Regions from separate parts of the Homo sapiens genome. Here all the other regions are linked to region 2. Evidence: promoter capture Hi-C in 16 types of primary human blood cells and fetal thymus (Javierre and others, 2016). All regions are on one chromosome and are shown on one strand. Each heading gives the region's core, a stretch centred on a gene start or on the middle of the fragment in contact. The rest is flanking DNA. Distances are from core to core; before and after follow the strand shown. Region 1 overlaps SEC24D (SEC24 homolog D, COPII component). Region 2 holds the start of PDE5A (phosphodiesterase 5A). Region 3 overlaps SYNPO2 (synaptopodin 2). Region 4 overlaps SYNPO2 (synaptopodin 2).

The links. Contacts are between HindIII fragments. The CHiCAGO score rates a contact against its expected background, and 5 or more counts as called.
Region 1: a fragment that was not itself captured here is called in contact with the fragment with the promoter of PDE5A in region 2 in 1 of 17 cell types (fetal thymus); the score reaches 6.1 in fetal thymus.
Region 3: a fragment that was not itself captured here is called in contact with the fragment with the promoter of PDE5A in region 2 in 5 of 17 cell types (total B cells, fetal thymus, activated CD4 T cells and 2 more); the score reaches 6.0 in total B cells.
Region 4: a contact is called between a fragment that was not itself captured here and the fragment with the promoter of PDE5A in region 2, in 1 of 17 cell types (endothelial precursors). The highest score is 5.3, in endothelial precursors.

The regions. Positions count from the first base shown.
Region 1 is chr4:118,762,362-118,767,720 of GRCh38, forward strand. SEC24D (SEC24 homolog D, COPII component) reads right to left here. Exons shown (of 23, transcript NM_014822.4): 10 at 2,441-2,556. Among named protein-coding and RNA genes, the nearest start is that of SEC24D, 71 kb to the right of the region's middle. The HindIII fragment of the contact is 5,143 bases long and covers 261-5,359 here.
Region 2 is chr4:119,627,242-119,632,277 of GRCh38, forward strand. It overlaps PDE5A (phosphodiesterase 5A), which reads right to left and starts at 1,563. Exons shown (of 21, transcript NM_001083.4): 1 at 1,279-1,563. The coding sequence starts at 1,430. It overlaps LOC107986192 (a long non-coding RNA gene), which reads left to right and starts at 549. Exons shown (of 1, transcript NR_165235.1): 1 at 549-3,514. RefSeq lists silencers at 1-276, 1,497-1,896 and an enhancer at 407-456. The HindIII fragment of the contact is 7,676 bases long and covers 1-5,036 here.
Region 3 is chr4:118,972,873-118,978,332 of GRCh38, forward strand. All of the region lies in intron 1 of SYNPO2 (synaptopodin 2), which reads left to right. The region is part of intron 2 of SYNPO2-AS1 (SYNPO2 antisense RNA 1); the gene reads right to left. Among named protein-coding and RNA genes, the nearest start is that of SYNPO2-AS1, 9.1 kb to the right of the region's middle. The HindIII fragment of the contact is 1,805 bases long and covers 713-2,517 here.
Region 4 is chr4:118,992,967-118,998,406 of GRCh38, forward strand. The region is part of intron 1 of SYNPO2 (synaptopodin 2); the gene reads left to right. Among named protein-coding and RNA genes, the nearest start is that of SYNPO2-AS1, 11 kb to the left of the region's middle. The HindIII fragment of the contact is 915 bases long and covers 1,741-2,655 here.

The DNA.
Region 1 (5,359 bases), core at 1,582-4,081, 860 kb before region 2:
AAGCTGGCACTTACGCGGTCTCTAAGCCTAAGTTTCCTCAAGTAATGATGGTACGCACCACATGGGTTCACCGTGAGGACTAAATGATACAATACATAGAAAGAATTTAGCCTACAGCTTGGCACATGGTAAATGTTCAATAATGTTAATTTTACCATCTAAAATCAACATTAAGATGAGCCAAGATGAATAGGAAAATGTGATTTTGTAATTCCTCTTTCCAAGTGCATGGTGTAAAAAATACATGTACAAATTAAATAAGCTTTTTCATTGTCTGAATAGCTAAGCCAACTCATTATTATACTTTATTTACATTTTAAATTATAATCAAATTTGAAGATGTTTACAGCATATTTATTATGAACTCTACTTGGAATAATAAAAGGAAGATTATGCTTACAAAAAGTTCTTCAAAATGTACAATTTTTATTTGGTTCCTTGCCTGGCTGGGTGAGATTTCCCATCAATTAGACTTCTGGAATATTTCCAGATAACAGAGTTTGAAGATACTAAGACTTTTGTTCCCAGAAACAGATTTGACTCTCTGCCTAAGTTACTACTAAAAAAGCATATAATCAAGATCATGTCACTTTTTTGGCAGAGAACTAGAAACTGAGAGCAGGGTTAGATTTATACTATGGTTGCAAAGATCGGCAAATAAATTTTCCATCATTAGTTACAATGGCTTTCTTACATTGAATTAAAACATTAAATGTTTGCATGTTGCCCAATGATTCTCCTTCAGTTAACAGCAGTTAGGAACAACTAAACTGTCCAAAAGTCACTGTATTTTAGGACATGCTTCTTGCCTAAAATAAAGCATTTGTACCAAAAATATTCCTAAATTTCCCTAAGTATGTTCAGATGTTGCAACATCTTAAACTAATAAAGCATCACATTTTCTTTAACAACTAGTTCTACGTAGTATATTGCAAAATAATCATATAAAGTAGTAAAATAAATGCAATAAGTTATGTTAATGGAAAAAATTTTAAGAGCCAGTCAACTGAAAAAAATTCTAGTTAGGAAAAATGTTCATTATCATCTACACTCAATACATGACTGCTCGCCTTGCAAACATCTATGAAAGAAATCTGTGGGTCAGAAGCTGTTTTCTGGGAATTGGGCATTAGTAGGCACTCATTTTTAGAAGAGAAAATAAGAAAATAAGTTAGAATGGCCCTGTTTCTTCAAGTCTACACATGGTGCTTCAGATATGCGCTGAAATCTGAATGATACGCAAGAAGATGTGATTTTCAAATCAGTGAAGAATTTTAAAGCCTTGCAAGGTATCCATAATGATGTCATTGTGACACTGGACAAGGGAAATGGCTAGTCCTGGGAATAGTAATACCCGCAAATTCATTGTTTTATTCATTCCACATACACTGATCAACTACCTATCCCATGGCAGATAGTGTGGTAAATGTCATAAAGATGACGAGGATATCAGAATCTAAGAAGACGGCAGACATATAAGAAGGTTTAAATTCCATGGGGATAAATGCTAAAATAGAGATATAGACCAAATTCCGTGAAAAAACAGAAGCTATAGTAAATAATTACCATGATAAAGACAGAGAAAGTTGCAAATGCATATACACAATTAAAATTTCAGCCAGGCATTACAGAATAGGGAGGGGTTTGCCAGTTGGGGTATGTAAGATGTGACAGGAGAATGGAAAGATACTCTGGTCAGATGAACATCTGGTATAAAGGCATGGAGTTGTCAAAGGGGCTGAGTTCAGAGTATGTGGTGAAAAGTTTTGTATAACTGAAGAGACAGCTGAGGTGATAGTTTGGGGGGCAATGCTTAATGGCCTTACAAAGAAAGCTAAATTTTTTTTAATTTAATTTTTTAGAAAAGAAATAACCAATAGAGGTTTATGAGAGGCAGTGAGTGTGGGGGCGTGTCTCATGGTGACATTATAGAGCAGGAAAATCAAAGGCCAGGATCTCAGCCTGCTGAGATAGACAGTGTAAGGGGGATTCTGAGAGTCCAAACCATCGTGGTAGCAACAGGAGGGAAGGGAGGTACAGAAACACGTCAATAGTCCTACTAACCATTTTGGTTGAGCTTTTCTCTTGGAAGGGAAGTTTTTCTGAGACTCTTTACAAAATAAGGGAGGCAGAGGCACTGTACGGAACTACTGCATTAAGAACCAGGTATATTCTGTCTGGCAAGGACATAAAAAATTATTGTTTTCTATTTCTGACACCACATTTCAGTTTTTAAAAATAATTCCTCCAGTAGATGGTTTGGCAGTTGAATCATGTTAACAACCTAGGAGATGGGATCTGTGTCTTAGGCATTTCTACCACTCCATGGTACCACCAAAATGCTTTGTTTGTGAATCAAGAGTCAGTTCTTTACATATGAAAGTTATTCACTTGAATTTAACATCAATGTATAAACACTTGAAGTTCTGGGAACACTTACTCTGCAATAATCCAAAGTGGCAACATATTCATAAGATCCTAGAGATAACTCTGGTTTCTCATAGTGGTCCAGTCTTCTTCCAATGTGGTCCAGATGTTGGAAATAGAATGGTGGAACTAATAAAAACAAAATAGGAAAGAAAATATTTTGTTTTCATAAACACAGACAATTTAGTAAGTTCTCAAAATTTATTATGAGAGGAAAGGAGTTAGTATCTGGAAAAATGTATTTTAAAGCTGGAATGTAGTATACCGTAAATACCTACTATTTTAAAAACATGTCTTGGAAAAGAGGAGGGTTCTTATTCTATAAGTTATTGATGACAAAGAACATTTATGATTTAGACCATCCTAGAGAAACAGGGTATAAAAGTATTGGTGTTTTTAAGTTGTCACAACCCAAATTCAATTGTCCCCATTTTATTACCTCTTTTAAAAAGAATTCTGACTTTTCTAACTATTTGAATTTTTAATATACCTAACAGAAATAAACATTCGTTATTTGAACTATACTATGAACTACAATATTTATTATGCTTTAATTAAGAGATGTCTTCACCCATGTGGAGTTTGCATGGTAATCTTTTAATGTTTGCGCTTAAGAGTGGAGAGGATTACTGTATTAGGGAAAGACTACACCACTAAGATCTCAGCTAAGGAACTTTAATTTGATTCAAATGTCTAAGAAGGTTAGTTCTGGCAAAGATCTGGAAGTCATCCAATAGCACAGGAACACTTATGAGTCACATACTGAGCACTTGGACAAATATGGCCTGGTATCTCTGTAAAAACGAACTCCTGTTGCCTTGAGATTAATAGGGCTGGCTACTAAACCACTGCCAATAAAAGTATTTAGAAAAACTACCAATGCTCTGGTTTTAAACTTTTTGTAAAGAACAACATTGCCATTTGTAAAAACCATACAAATAATGCTTCTTGTTTTTAAGCCAACAATTTGGCATTATTTATTGTTAGCTGTGAAACTGACATAAGAATAACAAGACTGTTTTCTGAGGTTGTTCTTTTTTTAAAAAAAAAACCCACTGAGGCTTGATTGTTCTACGTTGTTACTGTATCATGGCCATTTCTTTTAAAGTAAATTTTATAAGGTTCTTATGCACATATGGATCTCTGAATTTGGAAGATTCAACTTCTTGAAAAGATTACATAAGTAGCAACTGACAGGCTCAGCTGAGGTAAGTAAACTTTGAGGGTCTTAAATTGCTATTTTGTTACATTTAGATGAGATGGAGGATGCTGCCTCGGCTATCTTAGAATGCATAGTACAGTAGTTTCCACATAGTATAACATACAATTCATTCACATCTACACACAGAAATGTAATATGTGAAATGTTTTCCCTTTAAATTTTATTTTATATTCATTAGCATTTAATATTGTCTATCATCTTTTGTAAGCCAACATTCAACTCATACCATAAATCATGTACTACCCTTTGGCCCCTGTCTTCCTGCATGTCTCTGACCACACATACTCCCCACTGGACAATCTCTGGACACTTTGCAAGGAAATAAGAGTGGAATCACTAAAGCAAGCCTGCTGGGTTCTTTCTAACTCCAACAAACCTCTGTCTTTGTTAAACCTAAAAGAAGACAGGTGTCAGCATACATCTATGGGAGTCTGGCTTCCTTGTAGGGACACATATTTAAGCCTAGTGTGAATAATTCTATTGGAAAATAAACATGGCAGCTTCCTAGGAATGGATACCTGAGGGAACATAATCTGCTGTGTTGAGACACAAGAATTCTGAGTCGTTTTTCTCTTCCTGGAAGTGGCTGGGCCTTTTAAGGCCCTGAGCCGACACTTTGGGTAGGAGGCCAAAGAGTCACAGCAAACTGAAGATCCTTGCTGCTCTTCATGGTGGGTATGATTTTGGTCACCTTTCTAAGAAAGCTGGGGGCTTGGGTGAAGACATCTGAGGAGCTGGTGGGCTCGCTGGAGGACTTTGTCCAAATGCTTTGGGAGAAGCCTCTGTCCCTTCTCAGGATTTTTTCCTCTAAAACTAAAGCACAGAGAAATGAATTGTCACAGGGTTCCTGAAATCCAGGTCCCAAGACTGAATGATAGCCATGAATTTGGTTGCAGATTTCATTCAGGTTGAGAGAGGAAACAAGATCTTCCTTAGAAAGAGAAGTGAGGGTAGAGAACTAACAATCTGGTCTCAATGGGATATCCAATTTGCCCTGAGTGGAAACCATAGTTAATGTAAGGAGAGAGACGTACCAAGAGGCTTAGGCCATAGGCTGGGATGAGTCTAGAAGCCAATGATTCAACTCCACAGCAAGGTGCGTTTAAGAACTGACCAAAGGTCTGCATGAGAAGCACTCGCAAGGCCAGTCTCTGGCGCCCTAAGTTGGGTAAAGCCATGGACTGTGTGTGTGCGAGATAAGGTGGCAGGGAAATAAGAAGGCAAGCAACGCTCTCCCACCAGAGAATGCTCACAGAGCCAAGATGCCATGAATGTAATGATGTAGGAGGAATACTGTCCCCAGCTCAGTCAGCATTAGGGAGTAGTCAGCACCCGTGGGTAGAACCATGTGTTCACAGGCAGACAGTGCTATATGTTCTTCAGATCTAATTACCTGCAGGGAAGCCTGTCTACAAAGATAAGAAACAGAGAAGAAAACTCATACTCTAGTAATCATCACATGGTTCAAAAAATGTCAATGAATATGGGAATGTTCTCAGCCTCAGTATGTACCTCATTTAACAACAAATAATTAAAAATATATAGACATGTTATAAATGTAATAAATGTGAAAACACTTTCAGCAACTTAGCAGTTTTCTTCAAAATCAGTAAATTCGTACTGGAATAAAACAAAATATAATGAATACGGGAAAGCCCTTTTTAATAATGTTCCTTCCTCCTTAAACAATCCAACATTTACATCGGAGTG
Region 2 (5,036 bases), core at 313-2,812:
ACAACGCGCGCAGGTGAGGTGAGGTGAGGTCGGCGACTCAGAACCAGCTCCCTCACGGCCCCGGCCTCCGCGCCGCCGCCCGTCGCCTCCCGCTCGCCCCGCGCTGCGCCGCCCCCTGGCGGGGAGCGACCGGCAGAGCCGCGGCCGCGCGCCGGCGAGTGGGACCCGGGCGTCGAACCCGGGCGGGCTCCTCGACCATCACTGCCGGGCGTGTGTCACCCTCCCGGCCAAGACGGCCAGCACCCGCTGCCCGACGGCCGCTGCCCAGAGCAGGCGGCAGCGGGGCACGGACTCTTTCTGCAAAGGGGCGCGTCCTGGAGTCCACGCACCCCGACTATGCATCAATTCCTCAGGCTTCGGGGCACCCGCCCGCCAAGCACTCTCTGCTCCACTCTTCTTGTCCCTCTGCTCCCAGTCTCAATTCCTCCCCAACTCTCCCGCGAGCGTTTCCCACGAGCGCCCCGACTGCCCGCTGCGCAGCCGCCTCCAAAAGGACAGGCTCCCTCCTCCCCGCCCTCCGCAAGGGCCGCCCCGGCGCTTGGCTCTGGACCAGAAAGAGCTGGCCTCTGGGGTCTGCGCTGCCCCTTGGGGTCCGCTCCAGGCGGCGCCTCCCCTGCGCCCTTTGTGTGCACGCCGCAAACCCCTCTGCAGAGCTCTACTTTTGGCGGCACAGCCTTCGGCGGAAAAGCGAGTGAAAGGAGGCGCGCGGGACAAGCAGGAGACTGGAAGGGGGGAAAAGGCAACCGCACTCACTTTGGCAAGGTTCCGTCATGTTGCCTTTGGGCTGTCCCGTGGACTCGTCCCTCACCCCAGCTTCCCCGCCCAGCCAGGGCCAGGGCGAGGGGGGACGGGGGAGGAGCGGAGCCATCAAGACCGACTTGGAAATGGTGCTTCCGGAGCTGCAGGGAAGGGGCTCAGAAACTGTTTGGGTTTTGCTGATTGGATTTTGGGGAACCAGAGGGCTAGAGAGGGGCTAGGGGAAGGCCCGTGAGCACGGATGTATGAAAATAATCATGTTCCCGGGGAATACCAAGAGGGTCGGGGGTGAGGGTGGGAGGTCGGCAAGTACATTTTTGTATTTGAACTTTGTGAGCAAGTTGTATCAAATCCGACACTTGAGTTTTTCGACTGTGCTCGCTTAGAGTTGAGGTTTCTACCTCGTAACAGGACCGAGGACCTACTTCAAAAGCAAAGGGCCTGGGAACAGGGGTGAACGAAGGGCACAATTCAACAGGGGAGAGAAATCAGCCCCGGGTCTTCCGTGGGTCCTCTTCTTACCTGGTGGCTTTTCTAACAAAGTATGAGAAGGTAAAGTCCCAGTGATCGTCCAGCCATGCTTCGACCGAGTCCTGATCCCTCTGCTGCTGCTTCTGCTGCTGGGGCTGCTGCTGCTGTCGCTGCTGCCCGAAGCTGGGGCCGGCCCGCTCCATGGTTGGCACCGCGCGCCTCGGAGGCTCTCTGGTACTGCTTTTCCACCCCAGCTGGGGTCCGTCCCTCAGAAGAACAGGACTCGGCCTCGAGACCCTCCCCCTTCGTCCTGCTCCAGTCGGGCCGGCTTTCGACAAAGCGGCCGGAGCGCCAGGCCAGCCTCCTGCCCCGCCCCGCCCCGCGCGGTTCTACGGGCGCCCAGGTGTGGTGGGCGGGGCCAGGCGCAGCTGCTGCGCCCCCCCCACCCGGGGTCCGGCAGTGTTCCGCTCTCGCAGGCTCTTCAGTCCCCTGGTTCCCAGGAGGCGGCGGCGGCGGCGGCAGCGGCAGCGCCCGGCGAGCTCTCCGGAAGCCAAGTGGCGGCGGCTGGAAGGAGGCCGCGCGGCCGCTGGGGTGCGCTGTGTGCCAAGCCGACTTCTGGGGAGCGCGCTAGGTGACTGGGTGTGTTCTCAGAGTGCCCCAGGGAGGGAAGGTCGCGATGTGGGAAGTTTTGCCCGAAAGTAAGAGATGATGAGACCCTGGGCCCTTTTCCTGGGGCCTGGGAGTGCAATGACCTTCCCGCCTAGCTTTTCCCTAGCCCTACGCTTGGGTCTGGGAGGAGCGGGACCGACCTCCTTCAGAGCCCAGCCCGCTCAGTGACTTAAAGCGGTCCAGCCACGGACCACTGCGGGTGGAGAGAGCTGGGGCGTGTGCTAGCAAGAGAGATTTGCAGGTGTAGGTGGGTAACTTGCAACAAAGCCATACCCGTGCTTAATGTTAATGATAACAGCAATAATTATAACTTAAGTGCCTTTAACCATTGCCTCAAACTTCCCTTATGCATAACTGGAAAAAGATTTACTTGGAAAAGAAAAAGCAAACAAATAATTTCCAATGCTTTGTGCATGAAGTTAGAAAACAAGGGCACCTCTGTACAATTAGGTTAATCCGAGAGCACTGGCGCAACCCAGGTGCAGTCGAGGGCAACCAGTTATCCCAATTTTAAATTAATGCATCATTTTAATTAAATTGGAATTAACACTCCCTCAAAAGTATCCATTAAAAATGGCTCAGCCTTTTTGTCCAATCCCTATCTTGCTTCTTTAAAAAAGGAATTGGTGTCATCCTTTGCTTTGTCTGCATCCCCATCTTCCTGTCATGCATTGGCAGTTTTAATATGGCATTTTGCAATGACCTATATTTTTTGGTAGAATTAAATCTGGAATTATGGGTTGCACAATGTGTGAATGACACCATTAGCAGTGATATAAAAAAAAATGAGTTAGCTGATATACTTCTGACAACTTCCTTCTAAATACTCTTGGCAAGAATTTAAGGCATTATTCACTACATAGAAACACATCATTAAATTGATAATCTGAGAACTTTTAAAAGTATCTTCTAGTCCCCCAATGCAATGGTTTATCTTTCCTTCATTGAGTAATTGACCTTTTGCGACTTCAGTTTTTCTGAAACTTTACTGCTGTATGCAGGTAGCCACAACCAAAGAAAAGCAATCAAAGCAGTAGAGTATGAACTAATGGGTGATAAATTATATTGGATTTAGAAATGAGAATTCTCTCCTAATGTGTTACTATGATAGTGATTATAGTGCTCATGGAATACAGTCATGCGTCACCGAACAACAGGATACATTCTGAGAAATGTATCCTTAGGCAATTTCATCCTTCTCTGAACATCACAGTGTACTAACACAAAATAGATGGCTCAGCCTACTACACACTTAGGCTATTGCTCCTAGACCACAAATCTATACAGCATATTACTGTACTGAATACTGTAGGCAATTGTAATGCAATGATATTTGTGTGTCTAAACATATCTAAACATAGAAAAGGTACAGTAAAAATATAGTATTATCTTATGGGACTCATATATGTGGTCTGTCGTTGACTGAAAAGTGGCACATTACTGTGGAAAGTTTCTCCTCAGTACAGTTTTTTCTTGTGGAAATCCATGCATTCCTCCTAACAGGAGATCAATCGTAATTTAAAACTCTGCTTATCTACTAAAGATGCAGTGAATTTGGGGCTTGAATTATTTGCTTTTGTTGGATACTTGATTAAATAAACACGTATAATCATTTCAATGTTTGTATTCCCTCCAAAATTCATGTTGAAACTTAATCCCTAATTCAACAGTATTAAGAGGAGGTGCCTTTAAGTGGTGATTAGACCATTAGGGCTCTGCCTTTGTGAATGCATTAGTGCCTTTTTAAAAAAAGGCCCAAAGGAGACAGTTGGCCCCTTCTATTCTTTCCACTATGTGAAGACACAGCACTGACCCTTGCTGAGGATGCAGCAACAAGGTGCCATTTTGTAAGCAAAGAGCAGCCCTCACCAGTTGCCAAATCTGCTGGCACTTTGATTTTGGAGTTTCCAGCCTCCAGAACTGAGAGAAATTAATTTCTATTGTTTATAAATATCCCAGTCTGTGATATTTTATTACAGCAACACAAATGGACTAAGACAGTGGGTAATATCAAAATGTTCATTTTTCTCTCCTAACCTGAAAGGGTTAAATTATCAGAAACCAGGAAGGTTTCTGAAAAATTGCTTCAAGAAAAACAATCTATAGGCTGGGCACAGTGGCTCATTCCTGTAATCTCAGAACTTTGGGAGGGAGAGGTAGAAGGATACTTGAGCTCAGGAGTTTGAACCAGCCTGGGCCACATGGCATGACCCCATCTCTACACAAAATTTTTAAAAATTAGCCAGGCATGGGGGAACACACCTGTAATCCTAGTTATTCGAGAGGCTGAGGCAAGAGGATTGAGCCCAGGAGGTCAAGGCTGCAGTGAGCCATGATCGTGCCATTGCACTTCAGCCTCAGTGACAGTGTAAGACCCCCGGCTCTATAACAAAAAAGAAAAAAAAAGAAAAACAGTACATAGATTCTCTCAATAGTGAATCTCAAGTCTGTGTGGTATATATGATAGTTTGGGAGTTACTGTGAAGGCCTATTACCTGAGAAACATATCACAAGGGATTGGGGAACAGAAGTGTCTCAAACAGTTCTAGTCTCTGGGAGATTCAGCCAAAATGTGTAACTATACCTCCTGTAAATTTAAAGTAGTTAAAGGTAAGCATATTTTGAACTGACATTACCTGGGCCTCTTGTTTTTCAACTCCATTTTATTCTTTATCCCAATTTGCCCAATTATTTTGTTTTAACTTGGCATGAATTGTTCTAAGCACCTCAAATCTTGTTATGGAATTAGTTGAAGAATAAGTAAATCATAAACACTCCCAGGATATAACTTGAAAAATGCTGTTAATGCTATTTATAACAAACAAATGAGCAATGATGTATGTATGTGTATATGTATGATATATATATGTGTGTATATGTATATATATATTTAATTTTTGTAAATGACCCAGTCTGTGGTATTTTGTTATTGCAACACAAGTGGACTAAGATATATATATATATATATATAAAATCAATGATATATATGTGTATATACATACATATATGTCATTGCTCATTTGTTGCTCATGAGCAACAGCTTAACTAAAGACCTTCAATGTATTCCCACTGTGCTAAAATAAAATTCAAACTCTGTAACGTGGCTTATGGGGTTCTACATTATTTGGTTGTTACCTACC
Region 3 (5,460 bases), core at 365-2,864, 650 kb before region 2:
TAGATATTACAGGATCAGAAATACATATTTTGTAAGCTGGCTATCCCCGCTTGCTCACCTGCTTTTTCTCCCCATTCACACCACTTTTTCACACCAATGGTCCCCACTTATTATAACTCAACTTATGATGTTTCAACTTTACAATGGGCTTATACATGCATTAAATGCATTTTTGACTTATGGTATTTTTTGATTTATGATGGGTTTTGTGGGACATAGTCCCATTGTAAGTTGAGGAGCATCTGTAGAGTGAAAAACGTTTGAATTTTTGAGTAAGTCAGAATTATAGAATTAGTAATTCTATATTATTATGTGAATTCTGTTAATTATTATATGAATTCCATCAATTATAGAATTATTAATTCAAGGATTCTATTATACTATTATTAAAATTATAGTACCTCAAATATAAGACTTTCTCAGCATTTTAAAAAGTAGTTTTATTATACATATATACGTATAATGATTCTAGTAAGGCACACACTTGCACTAAGTGTGTGCACACAGAGGTCAGCTTCCTTTCACGGTGGTGCTGATTTTTAAGAGAAAGCCACAGCATAGCACGTATGATATGATACTGGCAGTTTTCGTTTCTGTGATGAGTGAGGATGAATTAATCCCTGTGCATGTCAGGTTTGGCTAACCACCATAAAAATTTCCCTTCACCAAATGTAAATATGTATCTTGCCAAGTACTTTCCACTTACTTTTTAAGCTTCATGTTTTTATTGGAAATTTAACCCATGCGTGTTGAGTTATTTACTGAACTCGGAATACTGTTGGGCAAATGCCAGTTCATAGCCAAAAAATTCCCTCCCCACAAAAGAACCCACCATAAATAGCCACATTTTTTTCTTCTTTCCTTTCATTTTCCTAACCACAATTTTGGATATTAATTAGTATCAGAACTAAAAGAAGCCTAGTTTGGTCCTGAAGTTACATAAAAGCTATATAGGCTACACCAATCAGTAGCCACTGGACATAAAACCTAAACAAACCCCACTGAAATAAGCAATCTAACATCACTCAGAACATAGTTTAACACAAGTAAATTCTTCATTGACCTGTTTTAAGATTCTTCTTTCTTCACAAAAGCAGGAGTCAGGTATTATTGTTCCCATTATACAGCTGAGGACGCTGACTTAAATCATCAACCTGCTTATCTTGGTCATATGATTTTAATTTTTGAAAAGAGAGTTGAGAATGAGAGTTAAACATAGCTAAATATTAAACCTGGACAATAATTATGTTTGAGCTAAGAAAAGAGGCATTTCTACAACACCTTTAGTGGGAGAGTAAATTTTAGTGCTCAAAGGGAATCAGCCGTAGCAAGTGGCATCTGTAGCATTTCTCAGTGGGATGAGATAGAAAATCTCACACAGGTATTGTATCTCAGGCCTTAGAGATTCCATACCTAGTTGTAGTGGTGGCTCTTTTTAGAGCCAAGTTATATAACAGGCTTTCTTGTTTGTGAATATACAGTCCATCCTTGACTCTCTTGCCCATCCTTGGCCACTGGCCCAGCAGAGGCCTAGACCCAGAATATTGTGGAAAACTGGATTTCTTGCCAGATTAGGTTTGACTTCCCTCACAGTTCACTTGTCCACACCTATGACTTCTCCCACATCTATCCCTAATTGATATGTTCAGCCTTGATTTTTCATTTGTCTTCTAGTCTTAATTCAACAATTTGATTGATTTTAACACATCCCTTTGCTTGGATACTTGCTAGCAATGTTCTCACATACAATCAATGTTAATACTGAAAATTTTGAAAAGAGAGCTGGGATTTTAGGGTTTCTTTCCCCAGATTTTGATTCTTTCCCTATGTTTCTTTCTTCTACCAACAGCATCACCATTATTAGGACTTTAGATTCATCCTTGACTTCTGCTTCTCTACATACCCTATCTCTCACTAAGGTGCAGTTTGCTTCAAATGTTGTCTCTTACCTCCTTCCTGGGGTTATTACAGATAACTCTAATCCAGGCTCTCATCACGTTGTTTTTGCAGAACTTTAATGGTTTCCTTGTTTCTCTATCTTCAGTCATCTCCTGTCTAGTCCATCCTACACACTGACTAATCTCCCTAGAGTGCTTACAAACCAATAATAATTTCTCATCACTACTGGATGAGAGCCAAGTGTTACATTCTGGCATTCAAAACTCTTTTCAATATGGTTCTACCCCAGTAATCCAACCTTACTTTCAATAACCTGTCACACACACCTTGCACCCACGTGAGGCCACCCTCTGCACCTCCAGGAGTACACCAGACTCTTTCCCACCACTGTTCTGTCATACTTATCTTATGGGCCACATATCGCTCAGTCATTGGGCTAAAGGAGCTAGACAAAGACCAGCACACAGAGTAACAAATAATTTGGGTGACAGATCCCAAAATCTATGTAGTACTACTGCTAGAAGGAAGACTAATCAACAAGTAGAATAGAGTTTGGGCACCTATGGCAACAGAAAATTTGGGGTTGTCTGGGCAAGAAGTTCCTTTCAGAAAAAGCCAAGCTTTAAGAGTGGGAATAGGCTGGCATATGAATGACAAACAGAGATGAAGGATCCAATACAACCATTATGAGGAACTTAAGGATACACACAGACAGGACTTGGGATATCTACTAACAAGTGGTAGCAGAGTCCAAGCAATCAGGCGAAATTCAAGAGCAGGACTTTCACCCCCAGGAAGGAGGAGGAGGTGCAAGGGGAAATTCCTGTCATAGAAGAGCTGGGTTACCACACAATTTATTAAGGGCACAATTAAGTCACAAAGAGTAAGACACACAGGGATATAGTTACAGGATTAGTTCCCTAGCACAAGGCAGAAGCCTAATCATCAAAACTTGGACTCTGGATCAGAGCCAACCAGCATTAAGTGACCCAGTCTCATACCCCAAAAAACACAGGGCTAAGAATATGTGCTCCACAGCCTGAGAGGGAATCTACCATAGTAAATGCCTTTGAACTTGAATTTCATTCTCCTGCCACTAGCTGTATGATCAGACACAAGTCCCATAACTTTTGTGAGCCTTACTTTCCTCAAAGTCAGGAGAAAAATAAATATTTTACAGATTTGTTGCAAAAATATAAAAGTGCCGGCTATGGAGACTGCCATTTATTAATAGACTCCCTGTCCCCTACCAGAGCTTTTGAAATCTTTCTTGCCCAATAACTGGATTGACTCTAGTGACTTTGTGTCCAGAATTGGTGGGTTCTTGGTCTCACTGACTTCAAGAATGAAGCCGCGGACTCTCGCGGTGAGTGTTACAGCTCTTAAGTTGGCACGTCTGGAGTCTGTCCCTTCTGATGTTCAGATGTGTTCGGAGTTTTTTCCTTCTGGTGGGTTCGTGGTCTCGCTGGCTCAGGAGTGAAGCTGCAGACCTTTGCAGTGAGTGTTACAGCTCTTAAGGCAGCGCGTCTGGAGTTATTCATTCCTCCCGCTGGGCTCGTGGTCTCAAGAGTGAAGCTGCAGATCTTCGCGGTGAGTGTTACAGCTCATAAAAGCAGCGTGGACCCAAAGAGTGAGCAGTAGCAAGATTTATTGCAAAGTGCAAAAGAACAAAGCTTCCACACTGTGGAAGGGGACCCTAGCGGGTTGCCAATGCTGGCTAGGGCAGCCTGCTTTTATTCTCTTATCTGGCCCCACCCACAACCTGCTGATTGGTAGAGCCGAGTGGCCTGTTTTGTCAGGGCGCTGATTGGTGCATTTACAATCCCTGAGCTAGATACAAAGGTTCTCCACGTCCCCATCAGATTAGTTAGATACAGAGTTTCCACACACAGGTTCTCCAAGGCCCCACCAGAGCAGCTAGATACAGAGTGTCGATTGGTGCATTCACAAACCTTGAGCTAAACACAGGGTGCTGACTGGTGTGTTTACAAACCTTGAGCTAGATACAGAATGCCGATTGGTGTATTTACAATACTTGAGCTAGACATAAAGGTTCTCCACGTCCTCACCAGAGCAGCTAGATACAGAGTGTCGATTGGTGCACTCACAAACCTTGAGCTAAACACAGGGTGCTGATTGGTGTATTTACAATCCCTGAGCTAGATAATAAAGACTCTCCACGTCCCCACCAGACTCAGGAACCCAGCTGGCTTCACCTAGAGGATCCCGCACCGGGGCTGCAGCTGGAGCTGCCTGCCAGTCCGGCGCCGTGCGCTCGCATTCCTCAGCCCTTGGGTGGTCGATGGGACTGGGCGCCGTGGAGCAGGGGGTGGTGCTCGTCAGGGAGGCTCGGGCCGCACAGGAGCCCATGGAGGGGGTGGGAGGCTCAGGCATGGCGGGCTGCAGGTCCCAAGGCCTGCCCCGTGGGAAGGCAGCTAAGGCCCGGGGAGAAATCGAGCGCAGCGCCGGTGGGCCAGCACTGCTGGGGGACTCAGTACACCCTCTGCAGCCACTGGCCTGGGTGCTAAGTCCCCCATTGCCCGAGGCCGCAGGGCTGGCCAGCTGCTCCGAGTGCGGGGCCTGCCAACCCCACGCCCACCCGGAACTCCAGCTGGCCCGCAAGCGCGGCACGCAGCCCCGGTTCCCGCTCACGCCTCTCCCTCCACACCTCCCTGCAAGCTGAGGGAGTGGGCTCCGGCCTTGGACAGCCCAGAAAGGGGCTCCCACAGTGCAGGGGACTGAAGGGCTCCTCAAATGCCACCAAAGTGGGAGCCCAGGCAGGGGAGGTGCCGAGAGCAAGCGAGGGCTCTGAGGACTGCCAGCATGCTGTCACCTCTCAACTTGAGGAGACACTAGCCTTGTGGGTGGGATCCAGCCATTCTCCTGATGGCAGGGAAGAGCTTCAGAGGCTAGAAATCAGACATGTCTGGATCATAATCCTACCTTGTCTGTGGAGCATCAACTCTGCCCTATAGAAATTTCTGCATTATGTAGGCCTTCTTTGAACGTATATCATGGTGAGTAGTGCTTGACCTTGTACAGTGTTAGCAATCCCACTTTTGACATCTCTAAAGCAACCCTGTAGGTTTATGGCATTGCCACTTATAATTTTGCAAAGACATAACTTCCACTCAGGAGTTCTGCAAGCCTGGTTCCAGGTAGTAGGTTACTAGCCAAGTGAGTGAACCCAGCAAATAGGACCTCATATATAGTCCAACATAGTTTTGTTGTTATCAAGTTGCCGTTGCATGAATATTTTATGAGGGAATTATATGCTACTGTAGAATTTGTGGATTGGGAATTTTCTAAGATCTTTGGGTGAATTCCTTGAAAACGTCAATGGCTTATGATGTCATAACTTATTGATTTTCTAGTTGCAACTTGCTTCTTGGCCAGATTTGCCCATCTAAATTTCAAGCTTCTCTAGGAATGAGCCAAGTCACATCTTTCCCTTTGTTCCCCACAATTTAGCCCAAAGTTGCCCTCAAAGCAAGCATTTAACCTGCAGTTGCTGATTGATTGAATTACTGTATCTTGTTGTCATTTTATTTACTTTTTAGA
Region 4 (5,440 bases), core at 948-3,447, 630 kb before region 2:
TACTCTGGACCCTGGGTGGGTGGTTGGGCAAAGCTAGATTCATCTTCTTAAGAAAACTACTCAAACCAAGCAGAGTCGATCTGCAAGATAATAAGAGTAGATATGCGAGTTAATGGGAAACCAGTGTTAGTCCTTGGAAAATAAAGCAGCATAAGAGAATTACTTACATTGTCAATTAAATTTTTAAATTAAATTCTGATTTTCGGAATTAATTAAAGAAGGAAGAGAGAGAAGACAAACAAAATGTGTATTTGTGTGTGTTTGTGTGCACGTGTGTGTGTTTGTAGTTATTCTCTTTAAAAAAAAATAGTGCCTTACAAAGTGGAAATGAAATAGTAAGCATGATGGACGGTGAGGATTAGCCATTGTAGAGAAATATAATTTTAGTGGATTGAAATTTATTTGGAAACCTTTTCCTATAGACAAACGTATCTCATTTTACGAGGCCTCCTTGATTTAGTTTGGTTTAAAAGTCAATGGAGAAATATATTCCATTTGATCAAATTGTCAAGTACAGCTTGTTAATGTGTCTGTGTGAGTTTCAACATATCACCACTCAAGTGTTGGATTTGTCCTTGTGTGTAAGCCACAGCAATGTCCCTCCTTCCTTCTCCACTTTCCTCTTCAAGCACAAGTCTCTTGGCCTACAAGTTTCTTAGACTACAGACTCCCATGATGGAGGTTTTCCCCCTATATGACCTACAGCTTAGTATGGTATTTCTAGATGTTTGTATAAGAACCTGTTTAACTGATTTCAGAGTCTTTTCTCTCTTCCCATGTTTTTCCCCCAAATTACTTTTTACTTTGTATTTGAAATATTTTTATGAATTTTCTAAATTTTAAAGGACTCTTGAATGTTTACTTATATTCTGACATGTTGAAAATATATTCCATTATCATGTTTAATCCCAGGACTTATGATGCTGGAAGCACGGAATGATTTAATGCTTTGCCTAGTCTTACCTAGCAAGCCAGAAGAGACATAGGCTTAAGCCGGACCAGCTGATCGTCAGTCCTATGCACTGCCCCTGAGCTGATTAATAGTTCCTTTTATTACTGTTGAACATTTGGTTCTTCTAGGGGGCCTCTGGGTCAGTCACTACCACCATATTAGGCCACACTCTGACAAGTAGTTTTGTTCCTACAAAGAATCTAATTTCTTTCTCCAACGTGTGGCCTCCTAAGACCACTGTGCTCCGCTGGTGATGCTTGAGTTACTCAGGGAAAGAGGCAGATAGCCAAAAATTCACCAATTTTAGCAGAAAACCCTGCCATCAGCGACAGCTGGAGCATCACAAAATCTATAAACACACTTGTTACTCATCTGCTGTGCCTGTAGGACAAGCCAGGCATGTGACCACTGAACATCTTGTAGAGGAGAGGTTTCCTAGGCGGGTCTCCTGACAGAAACTGAGATGAGAAAAATCAAATGAGCTTGGCGTTCAGAACATTGTGTGTTATTAGTTGAGCCCTGTTTTGAAAGAGGAGACCTACCACCTAAATGTAATTTAAAGAATTGAGAGATGGAGTGACAATTGGGTTAGATGCATCAATATGAGCACTGTTAATTCAATATATGAACTGGGGAATCGCTGAGTTTGAGTACTAATTGGTTACAGAGGAATTTTCTTTAAAAACTCTTAAAAGGCTTTGTACCTAGCATTTTATCATCTAGAAAAAGGCAAAGTTTTGGTAAAATGCAATCCTAGTGACAGAGTAAATTTACATCACATAACCACAAGCTTGGTAGAAAGTGGCATGTTATTCCCATAAACATCTTGGACATCTAAAGTTAAAAATCGTAGGTGTTATAGAAAAAGATCTTTGTTTCTAGTTTTTGGGTATTTAATTTTTAAAATTTTGGCATTTGTTTTCTTATCCAAATGCCTGCCCATGCAAGAATTAGATTATCTGAATAGGAGATAAGATGTACTTAGACCCTTTGATTAAATTTTCTTGGATTTTAGGCATATAACCATAGATCCTTGTCTAATGAATATTTTTTATTTACTATTTTTCAAATCACAAACTAATGAAAGGACATACAAACAAACGTGCTCTCATAATTCAGTTCATTCTTTTAGACTCCTTGAATGTAAGAGCAAGGTACATATATTTTACTTCCAGTGCAATTCTCTATGGTATCTAAGTGCCATGAACACTCACCAGTGCTGTCTCATGATCTAATACCCATGATTATTTGAGCTATTGACTTAGGATGATCCCAGCCTGTAGGTCTCATTTGCAAAGTTCTTTAAACATATGCCTTTGTGATGAATCAAAGTCATTTCTTGAAAAAAACAGAGCTCTGACCAGATACTATGTTAGATATTTGATGGGAAATATATATTCCAACTTGGATATATATTGAGCTCCAAGCCCAATATATGTGATGATAGCAACTATTATTTACTATTTATTGTATACCTATCACTGTGATGGGTATCTTATATACATTATGTCTGTTATTCCTCTCAAAAACCCCATAAGATAGGCATATTATTTCCAATTTTACAAATGAGAAAAACCAAAGTTTGTTAATTAAATAACTTGCTCCAAGTTACACAGTTAGTAAGTGAAGGAGGAGTTATTTGAACTCAGGTTGTCTGATTCCACAGGCTTTGCATTCAGAGTGGCAGTATAATGTGTTTTGTAAGCTTCAGAGTCAAATTATAAGCTTTGACTCTGAAGCTAGATTACCCAGGTTTAAATCTTAGCTCTGCCCCTTAATAACCAATAACTTATGAGACCTGGGACAAATGACTACAAGGAAGTTTAAAATTGAACATGTGGCTTACATTTGAGGTCCATGTTGTATTTCTATTGGATAGTGCTAGGTCTGGACTTTTCCAAATGCTGTCTTTCATTCTTTATCTGTCCATGTATCTATTTATCTTATCTATCTATCTATCTATCTATCTATCTATCTATCTATCTATCATCTATCTAATTTTGCTTTTTTCTGTCTTGCCTCTTTTTATTTCTTTGCCCACATTGATGCTAAAGATGTCTTACTAAACACAATCCGATCCAGGCTCTTTTGTACTGAAAAGCTTTTGCTAGCTCCTATCACCTACAATGGAAAGCCTGAACTCCATTATGCGGCATACACAAACTTTTCATCCTCTCTCTACCTGTCCAGCCTCATCTCTCTCATGACTCTCTTCCTTGCACTTCACATCTTGGAAACACTAAGCTGTGCTTTGGTTCCCAGGTCATTTCACGCTTTTGCCTTTGCACTTGTTGTTCCCATTGCTTTGAAATCTCCTCCCCTTTCTGGTTGCAGTGACTGAAGTTTTACTCATCTCCCAAAATCTAACTCAGACATTGCCTCCTCTAGAAAGGTTTCCCAAAATGATCAGCCACCCCCTTCGTCCACCACTTTTGCAATGCTTCTGTTCTTTATGAATACTTTTATTACCTTTGCCAGATGTATAACTTGTTTTTCTGTCTGCCACCCCTACTAGCCTGAGTATACGGAGAATATAATTGTATATCATTTCCATATTGATAAAAAAGTGATTGAATAAACAAAACAATACCTTCTCTCAAGGAGAGAGATACACTTTTGTACAATAAAAATAAATATAACGCAAGATGTAAGATATGTCATAAGGCCAGGTGCTCACGCCCGTAATCCCAGCACTTTGGGAGGCCAGTGGGGGTGGATCATGAGGTCAGGAGATTGAGACTATCCTGGCTAACATGGTGAAACCCCATTTCTATTCAAAATACAAAAAATAAGCCAGGCGTGGTGGCACACGCCTGTAGTCCCAGTTACTCGGGAGGCTGAGGTAGGAGAATCGCTCGAACCTGGGAGGCAGAGGTTGCGGTGAGCTGAGATCGCGCCACTGCACTCCAGCCTGGGTGACAGAGTGAGACTCTGTCTCAAAAAAAAAAAAAAAAGTGTCATAAGACAGAGCAATCAATAAATGTCCATTTGCAAGCAGAAAAGAAGTCAATTAATTTTGACAAAAATTTAAAAGAAAAAAGGCCGGGCGCGGTGGCTCACGCCTGTAATCCCAGCACTTTGGGAGGCCGAGGCGGGCGGATCACGAGGTCAGGAGATCGAGACCATCCCGGCTAAAACGGTGAAACCCCGTCTGTACTAAAAATACAAAAAATTAGCAGGGCGTAGTGGCGGGCGCCTGTAGTCCCAGCTACTTGGGAGGCTGAGGCAGGAGAATGGCGTGAACCCGGGAGGCGGAGCTTGCAGTGAGCCGAGATCCCGCCACTGCACTCCAGCCTGGGCGACAGAGCGAGACTCCGTCTCAAAAAAAAAAAAAAAAAATTAAAAGAAAATGTAATGAGGTAGGGAAACATTGATTGACTGGCTGATATAAGATCTCTCAAGATGGCCTTACCTTTGTCAGTGTAGCATAGTCCCCAGCTGACTCTCAAATATGCAGATTCTAAACCAGTTTTGTCATTGTTCAAACAATATCTAGGGATACTATACTCATGCTACCTGAAGACACGGGACACTGAGGCTAAACTAGAATTCTAGTTTCTTGCTTCAGAGGGAGGGAAAAAACATATTGATAAGACTGAATACCTGCATCTTCTGGTCAGTGTGATAGTTTCCCTTAGGAACCAAATTTATTAGTAAAGCTAGATTTGTGAGTGTGAAATCAGAACAAAGTCTGTGAGTTGAAAGATTCAATAGTGGATGCCTGCTCTGCTCACCTCTGCAGTTGAATGCACCTGTTACTTGCACCAGGCAGAGCAAATCTTTAGTCTGGCTGCCTTCTTCTCTGGGCAGTACTTTTATGGGCACTGTTTGTCTATGACTCTTTTCTAATTTCTATTTCTAGACAACCCATTCAGAAAGACACATTCTTTCCTTAGACATGTTAATACCTCCCATTAGTCAGCTCTGTTCTGTGCTCAGTCCACTTATGAGGCAACTTTAAACATTTCTGTTCTCATAGGCAACCTGTTGATTTAGAGTTAACCCTCCAAGGCAAGCCCTGTTATCTTATTTCCAAGATCTTAGATGTCCCTGACTCCTGACAGTAAAATAGCTTTGGGGGAATTGAGGAGAAAGGAGAGGGGCGCTTCCTGGAGAAGACAGTGTTAGGATTCTGACGGGGGTGGTAAGGATGGGAGACTAGGACTTGGTTAACTGCACTGCTTGATAACCGCATTTTTCAAAAAGTATGTGTCAGTTATTTGAGGAAAATTACAAGGCCTTGAATTATGTAAATATATTTTTAATATGCACACTTCACTGGCTTGGTCATATTCTAAATTTTGCAGCCTTTTTGCTGTTTGAAAGTATGAATTTAAGAGAGCGCTCAAGGATGAAGCATTATTTGTATTGCTAGGACTGCTAAGCAGTGAAACACACTTTAAGGGCAAAGTTTCCTTTCTGGTGAACAAACAAAAGAGAATTATATTATCGTGTAATATCATGTAATATCGTGTGTATTTTAGGTAT